Linked DNA regions of Homo sapiens: region 2 is linked to region 1. The links are contacts of gene promoters, found by promoter capture Hi-C in human tissues and cell types (Jung and others, 2019). All regions are on one chromosome and are shown on one strand. The core of a region is centred on a gene start or on the middle of the fragment in contact, and the rest is flanking DNA. Distances in the headings are between cores, read along the strand shown. Region 1 holds the start of GPR65 (G protein-coupled receptor 65). Region 2 overlaps KCNK10 (potassium two pore domain channel subfamily K member 10).

Region 1 (4,281 bases), core at 419-2,918:
TTTCTTATGTTTCTTAATGATAATCTTTTTCTTTTGAAAAGCAAAATACATGAATATTAGATATGGACATGAAAATACCCTTTCCCTAAAAGCAGAAGTATAGTCTATTCAGATAAAGTAAGAGATCATCAGAGTAATGAAATACCTACGTAACAATGCACTTGTACCCCGAACTTAAAAAAAGATATATCATGTATAGAAACCACAGATAAGCAGATGTACGAAACCAAGCAAAAATGAGAACTTTGAATTACAGTCACAAGTAAACTGAAATCGTTACTTTTCATTTTTGTAAAACTTCAAGACATTTATTGTTAATTTTTTACTTTATACTTAATTTTTATTATTTCAGTAACAATATATTGATTTATAATTTACTATATGCTAAATTACTTTATAAACTATCCTGTGCTTTATAAATGTAAGGTATTAGTTTTATTATTCTCAAAGAAAGACCTACAACGGAAGTATTGAAAATCTTTACATTCCTGATATACCCTGATCAACTTCAATATGGAAAGCCTTGCTTATATACAGGCTAATCTTTTCTATCTCTGGGTAGGGAGAAAAAAACAACAAAAAAAAAACACCAGCAACAACCCTTAATGTCCTTTAACAAACACAGATTCAAAATGTCCTGATTACATCTTTAAAATTAAGTCAAATGTTTTCATCCCAAATAAATTCTGTTCTTTCAAATAATATTTTCCCTTCATTTCTAATAAAAGTTTATGAGGGCAAGATTCAAAAGTGATATTTCTGACTTTTTTATATATCAATAGTAAGAAAGTTATAGGAGCTAATTTCACTTCATATTAAACCACTTATAGATTTGGCATTAACTTTAACTTGCTAAAGTACAAGAGTTTTTATAATAACAATGTAAGTCTTAAATAAAATTTTCAAGTTTCATAAAATTATTTGTCTCAGCTAGTTAATTCAACTGGTTTTTAGCCATCTCTGTTTCCAAGAGGAGAGAATCAAAGGAGAAAATAGTTCTACAATCAAATACTATATATCTAATCCCATTAGTCTCTCAAAAAAAAAAAGAAAAGAAAGACGGTATGAGGTTGGCTACCTTAACCCCTGCCTTAAGCAGCACAATATCCATCATTAAACCCCTCAGCCTCAATTCTCCCTTTTCTGTTTTTGTCCCAGGAACTTTATCACCCTGAATCTACCTACAATATCCTCCCCTATCTCACACATCCAAATGGTTCATTCTATTTTATCTGTACCCCTCTTGAAGTACTTCTTCATTTTGCCATTGCATTACAATCATTATTAAACATGTCTTTCTCCTTTACTAGGTAAAAAAAGCTGCTTTTGGTTGATAGCCAGTTCGTATACATCTCCCCGCACACTGCTGGCATGATGAGTGAATGAATGAATGAATGAATGAATGAACAAAGAAATAAATAAAATATTTAACATATATTCCATTAAGTAAAGGGCATATAATATAATATCAGTACATACTTGTAATTAAGATGCAATGAGACAAGTGAGTTATAAAAATTACAGTACAGTAAACAATAAATAAAAACATCTTTAAAAGTATTTAAGAGACTTTTTTTGTTCAAACTTGGATAACGCACACCCTTCTCATTGAGATGCTGCTTCCTCATTGGTTTGTGCTGAAATATGAGTGCAATTTCCTGTCCCCTCAGCAGTGTTGGTTTCTCTTCTTGACTTGATGCAGGCACAGATTTATCAAGCTCCTCAGTCAACAAACACATCACCGGAAGAAATATGGGTAAGTATAAGATTAAAAAATAAAATAATATTTTAAAGTAGATAACATGCTTTGGCATAATTGTCAGTGATGTTCGCAACATTCTTCCTGGTTTAGGCTGTATAAATGTGGTAATGCAAAGCATGATAAGAGAGAAAGAAATGAGGAAGACACATGGTTTCCTCTACTTTGAGCAGTGGTAAAGGGCCAAACTTTAAATTTAGAACTAATTAGGCAAAACCATAGATATAGAAAAAGGGGGTTGTTCATACTTTATTTTCTTTTCAGGAAACAGTGCTTTGGCAAACTTCATTCAGTATTAGGAAGAAGCCTACCAGCCCCTGGCTTTAGAGCTATCTGGCACCAATCCCTCATCTGTACAATGGTCCAGTAAATACTTTTTATATCCATCAGAAAAAAATGTGATATTAGGAAAGAATATTTCCAGTATTAATAAATGTCAAGTAATAATTATTAGTTAATAAGTGACTACCACAGTGCCTGAAATATATAGTAGAGTCTTAATAAGTAACTATTAAACTGATAGATGAAAGCAAGCATTTTCTATAACACTGTAGGAAAATATTGTACTTTTGGTCATCGTCATCAATGATTTGTACTATTTTTAGATCTGTTCAAGAATAGATATACTTTAATATACTGTAGATTGTCTTTTTTGACATCTGGTAAAAATTAAAAAATTAAAAACTCACCAAAATTTCTCAGTGCTTGTTCTAAAAACAATTTTCTCAAAATTTGATTAAAGGAGGCAAAATAATATCTGAAAAGATATGTGAATACTGTAATAGGAATTATATACAGTATTCCACTAAAATCTCAGATCCACCCAAATTAAATGAACAACTATTATCTGCAGAGCCTAGTATTATACGTGAAGTGTTACCATATAAATTACACTCTGAGCACCTCCAGCTTTTCTGCTATGCTGTGGCTAGATGACTAAAGATGATTTCTTTTCAGAAAATGTAGGGGACAGCACAAAGATTGGTGCAGACTACCAATGTCATTAAAACAATATTACCAGCTAACGTACAGTGAATGCCTCCCATGTGCTAGGAACTTTGCTTCATATGTCGTTTCATTTAACCCTCACAACAATCTTAGAAACTGGGTACTAACTTACACATGTGAAAACTGGAACTTAGAGAGGTGAAGAAACACCAATGGGCCCAGAGTGCTGTTGAGAGGCATTCGAATTGTCTCCAGAGCCCACGCTCTTAACCACAAGCCTGTACTGCCTCTGCGTCACTACAAAGAAGAGGGCCTCTGCTTCATCAACCCATCCTGTCTTGTGGTTAAGTCAAGGCAGGAAATGCTTTTACAGCTAGAGAAATGTATTCCATTGAAAACTTTATAAACCTTTCTAAAAATCATTTTTTCATTTAATCTGTCATACCATTTTTAAAGAAAATGATGACTATCTATTGAGTAACACGGACAAAGGAGGAAGAGGCACATGCTGCCCATTACCCGACTTTCTCGGTCCTGGTCTTAAGGGGAGGATGTTTTCATGGTTCAGGTGTTCTTCCCAAGACACATGAGCCTGGTGTTGGACGTGTTGTGTGTGCATCAGAGTCCCATCCGCGGGGGCTGATTCAATCTTCCTGCATCGCAGACATTACCCTAGTGTCCTTTTCCTACTTCAGTTATATCCTTTAGAAGTTTCTTTAGTGGGGATTTTGGATGTAAATGTTCTGAGTGGTAGTTTACCTGAAAATGTCCTAATTCTTGCTCTGGTCCTTGAAATTTAGTTCTGTTGAGTATATAATTATAGGATGACATATATTTTCTTAGCAATTTGGAACTTTTAATCTTCTGCTGTCTGTTATCGCTGTTGAGAAGTCTTTTGTCCGTCTAAATTCCATCCTTCATAGGTAGTCCATCTTTCCTCTCTGGCTCTTTTTTCCTTAGTCTTTGGTGAACTGCAATTTTATTGCAATGTGTCTAAGTATAGGTTTCCATTTTTGTGTTTTTAATCCTATTTGGGATTTTCTAAGCTTCATAAATCTGCAGATTTCATGAGGATTGAAGATGCATGAGGATTCTTCATCCATCCTCAAGATTCCTTCATCAGTTCTAGAAAGCTCATCATCTTTGTGAATATTGCCTTTTCAACATTCTCTCTTTTCGATCTTTATGGAATTCCAATTATGTATATGCCACCCTTTTCACCTTTTCTCCATATCTCTTATATTTTCCCATGTCCTTAACATGCTGATAATTTTGTGTTATTTCTTTATCTCTATCTTGCAATATACAAATTTTCTCTTCAGCTGGATCTAATCAGTTGGTTACTCCCTGTGTTTATTTTTAAATTTAAATTATTATTATTTTTATTTTTAGAAAGTCTTTTTCAATCTTTCTAAAAATATGGCTTGTCATTTTTTAATCTCTTCCTCCTTACTCATGTGTTTAAATCCCTTCTTTTGTTTCTTTAAACATATTAAACATATTTTGTGTTTTTTATATATATATATATAAATTTTATCTCTAAAGTTTTGTGGATCTGGTTTACTTTGTTGTTT
Region 2 (4,153 bases), core at 1,626-4,125, 220 kb after region 1:
GCTGATGTCAACACAATATTGAAAAAGAAGAAAAAAATTGGAGGACTGACACTAACTGGCTTTAAGAATTACTATAGAGCGTGGCCGGGCGCGGTGGCTCACGCCTGTAATCCCAGCACTTTGGGAGGCCGAGGCGGGCGGATCACGAGGTCAGAAGATCGAGACCATCCCGGCTAAAACGGTGAAACCCCGTCTCTACTAAAAATACAAAAAATTAGCCGGGCGTAGTGGCGGGCGCCTGTAGTCCCAGCTACTTGGGAGGCTGAGGCAGGAGAATGGCGTGAACCCGGGAGGCGGAGCTTGCAGTGAGCCGAGATCGTGCCACTGCACTCCAGCCTGGGCGACAGAGCGAGACTCCGTCTCAAAAAAAAAAAAAAAAAAAAAAAAAAAAAAAAAAAAAAATTACTATAGAGCGAAAGTAATCAAGACAGTATGATATTGGAGAAAGAATAGACAAATAGGTCAATGAACTAGAATAGAGAGCCCAAAATAGAACCACATAAATATAGTCAACTTACCTTTGACAAAGGAGCAAAGGCGACAACATGGAGAAAAAAAAAAAGGTCTTTTCAACAAATGGCACAGGAACAACTGAACATACACATGCAAAAAATATGGCTGCAGACACAAAGCTCACACCCTTCACAAAAATCAACTTAAAAGTGATCACATACCTACATGTAAAATGCAAAAGTATAAAACTCCTAGAAGGTAACATAGGAAGAAATCTACATGACCTTGAGTATGCCAATTACTTTTTAGATACAACAAACACATGCTCCATGAAAGAAATAGTTGATAAGCTGGACTTCATTAAAATTAAAACCTCTGCTCTGTTAAAGACACTATCAAGAGAATGAAAAGATAACCCACAGATTGGGAGAAAATATTTGCAAAGGATATACTAGATAAAAAATGCAAAGGATATACTTGATAAAGGAATATAATTCAAAATATATAAAATATGGCCAGGCACAGTGGCTCATGCCTGTAATCCCAGCACTCTGGGAGACCGAGGCAGGTGGATCACCTGAGGTCAGGAGTTCAAGACCAGCTTGGCCAACAAAGTGAAACCCCATCTCTACTAAAAATACAAAAATTAGCCAGGCATGGTGGTGCATGCCTGTAATCCCAGCTACTTGGGAGGCTGAGGCAGAAGAATCACTTGAACCTGGGAGGCAGAGGTTGCAGTGAGCCAAGATCATACCACTGCACTCCAGCCTGGGTGACAGAGTGAGACTCTGTCTCAATAATAATAATAATAATAATAATAATACATTACACATTATACATTAAATCTCAACAATAAAGAAACAAATAGCTCAATTAAAAAATAGGCCAAAGACTTTAACAGACACTTCACCAAAGAAGATATACAGATGGCAAGTAAGCATCTGAAAAGATGCTCCACATTATACATCATCAGAGAAATGCAAATTAAAGCAAGATACCACTACACACTTAGAATTGAGAAAATTCAGAACACCGACAACAGCAAATGCTGATGAGGATGTGGAGCAACAGGAACTGTCATTCATTGCTGGTGGAAGTACAAAATTGTATAGCCACTTTGGAAGACAGTGTGGCAATTTCTTATACACCTAAGCATATTCTTACCATCCAATCCAGTCATCACACATCTTTGTATTTAACTAAAGGAGTTGAAAACTAATGTTCAACCAAAAAACCTGTGCACAGAGGTTTATATCAGCTTTATTCGTAATTACCAAAACTTAGAAGCAAACAAGATGTCCTTCAGTAGGTGAATGGATACATAAACTATGGTACACCCAGAAAATGGAATATTATTCACCACCCAGCAGAAATGGACTACAAGCCATGAAAAGACATAGAGGAAACTTTTATCCATATTTAAGTGAAATAAGCCAGTCTGAAAAGGCTACATACAGTATGATTGCAACTACACAACTGTATAAGTCCGTTTTCACGCTGCTGATAAAGACATATCTGAAACTGGGAACAAAAAGAGGCTTAATTGGACTTACAGTTCCACATGGCTGGGGAGGCCTCAGAGTCATGGTGGGAGGTGAAAGGTATTTCTTACATGGTGGCAGCAAGAGAAAAATGAGGAAGAAGCAAAAGCAGAAACCCCTGATAAGCCTATCAAATCTCGTGAGGCTTATTCACTATCATGAGAATAGCACAGGAAAGACTGGCCCCCATGATTCAACTACCTCCCCCTGGGTCCCTCCCACAACACATGGGAATTCTGGGAGATATAAGTTGAGATTTGGGTGGGGACACAGCCAAACCATATTAATGACATTCTGGAAAAGACAAAACTAATAAAAACATGAGTCATTGTCAAAGGTTAGGAGAACGGGATTGATGAACAAGCAGGGTACAGAGGATTTTTAGGAGAGTGAAATACTATGTATGATACTATAATGGTAGACGCATGTCATTATAAATTTGTCCAAATTCATAGACTCTACAACACCAAGAGTGAACCCTAATGTAAACTATGGACTCTAGGTGATAATGATGCATCAATGTAGGTTCATAAATTGTAACAAATGTACCAGTCTGGTGCGGGATGTTGATAATGAGGGAGACTGCACATGTGTGTAGGGGCAAGGGGATATGGGATATCTCTGTATCTTCCCCTCCATTTTGCTGTGAATATGCAACTGCTCTAAAAAAAGATAAATTTTAAGGGAGTTCCTTTTGTATTTCCTGATATGAGGTTGGGTGAAAACGTGCTATTTGGTCATGAAGCAGCCATCTTGCAATGTGAGTGACAAGTCTGAGGATGAAGAGCTACCATGCCAAGGAAAACAGAGCAGAAAGAGGTAACAAATCTGGATACACCTGACATTGTGGAGCTGATAGCACAAGCCTGAGTCAACGTACCTCCAGGCTTCTTGCTATGTGAGATAAGGGTTCAAATTCTTAACCCATTGTTAATGAGTGTTGGGAGTATGAAAATTGTCAGAATCAAAATGGGGTTACTTGTGCTTAAAACTCTGACAAACAGAGTCAGGGAAAGCCAGGAAGGAAGGATTCTCATGCACAAATGCCTGATTACAAGAGCTATCATAAAAGACTGCAAAAACTACAACCTTGCACAAAACCCATCACCTCGTTATGCAGAAAAGCATTTCTGCGAAGACATCTACCCAGCAACTGACTGTCCAACCTTGGACTGGCATCACCCTTGTTATTGATCCTTGTATTCAAGGATAATTAGCTCAAAACAATTATGTAATCCTGTTCATTTTTCCTTTAAAAACCTTTTTTTTTTTTTTTTGCTTTACCTCCCTGAATGCACACATAGTTTAAACTGGCATGTATGTTACCACTGCAATGCCCATCCCTGAGTAAATATCATTTTCTTTCAATGAGCCTCTGTCTGTATGTTATTTAGGGTGACATAAATGGTGTCAGAAGTGGGATCAAAGTGAGTGCACCTCAGAGGAATGAGAGGTCCCTGGAACTGAGTGCAGTACTGACTGAGCCCTTTCTGCTCTCTGCTTCTGTCTGTTGCCTCTTCTGTCTGGGTGACTCTCCTCTCAGATTCTCAGACTCCCTCCCTTTGGCGAGTTCTTTTTGACTTTATATGTGATTTGATTTGGCTAAAAGGTGCCTTAAGTAAAGAACTTTGCATCCCTCTTGGGTCTGTAAAAGGCGTTTTTGTTTGTTTGTTTGTTGGCAAGCACTTTCTGGTAGAAAAGTATCCTTCTGCATTGAGTACTCTGGTTTCTACAGAATTTACATTCTGTCTTAGTGGCATGTCTTTTCTGGTGAATTCACTTTTGGTTCTTTCTTTACATCTAGTTTAATATGTTATTTGGTCTGTACACCCGGCTTAAAAAAATGTGTGTGGCTGGGCGTGGTGGCTCACGCCTGTAATCCCAGCACTCTGGGAGGCCAAGGAGGGCAGATCACCTGAGGCCAGGAGTTCCAGACTAGCCTTGCCAACACAGTGAAATCCCATCTCCACTTAAAAAAAAAAAAAAAGAAAATTGTGAGCATTCTTATTTTAGTTTCATTTGGGTTTGGTTATGCACATCTGCAAATAATTTGGCACCTTTACTTTTACCTTTCCTTTGTTTCTGAACATCATCTGAGAGCAAAATTAAACATTTTAAGTGGTGGTGCAAGAAGGCCATTTAAAAGTGTTGTTTTAAGC

What was found. The method cuts DNA at HindIII sites, captures the fragments that hold promoters and counts their contacts. A contact is called where the count stands out against the background at its distance.
Region 2: a fragment that was not itself captured here is called in contact with the fragment with the promoter of GPR65 in region 1 in 2 of the 25 tissues and cell types used here (H1 embryonic stem cells and mesendoderm cells).

Annotation. Positions count from the first base shown.
Region 1 is chr14:88,003,467-88,007,747 of GRCh38, forward strand. GPR65 (G protein-coupled receptor 65) reads left to right here and starts at 1,669. Exons shown (of 2, transcript NM_003608.4): 1 at 1,669-1,756. RefSeq lists enhancers at 2,084-2,253, 3,054-3,113. The HindIII fragment of the contact is 6,432 bases long and covers 1-4,281 here.
Region 2 is chr14:88,220,054-88,224,206 of GRCh38, forward strand. All of the region lies in intron 4 of KCNK10 (potassium two pore domain channel subfamily K member 10), which reads right to left. Among named protein-coding and RNA genes, the nearest start is that of KCNK10-AS1, 61 kb to the left of the region's middle. The HindIII fragment of the contact is 3,416 bases long and covers 1,168-4,153 here.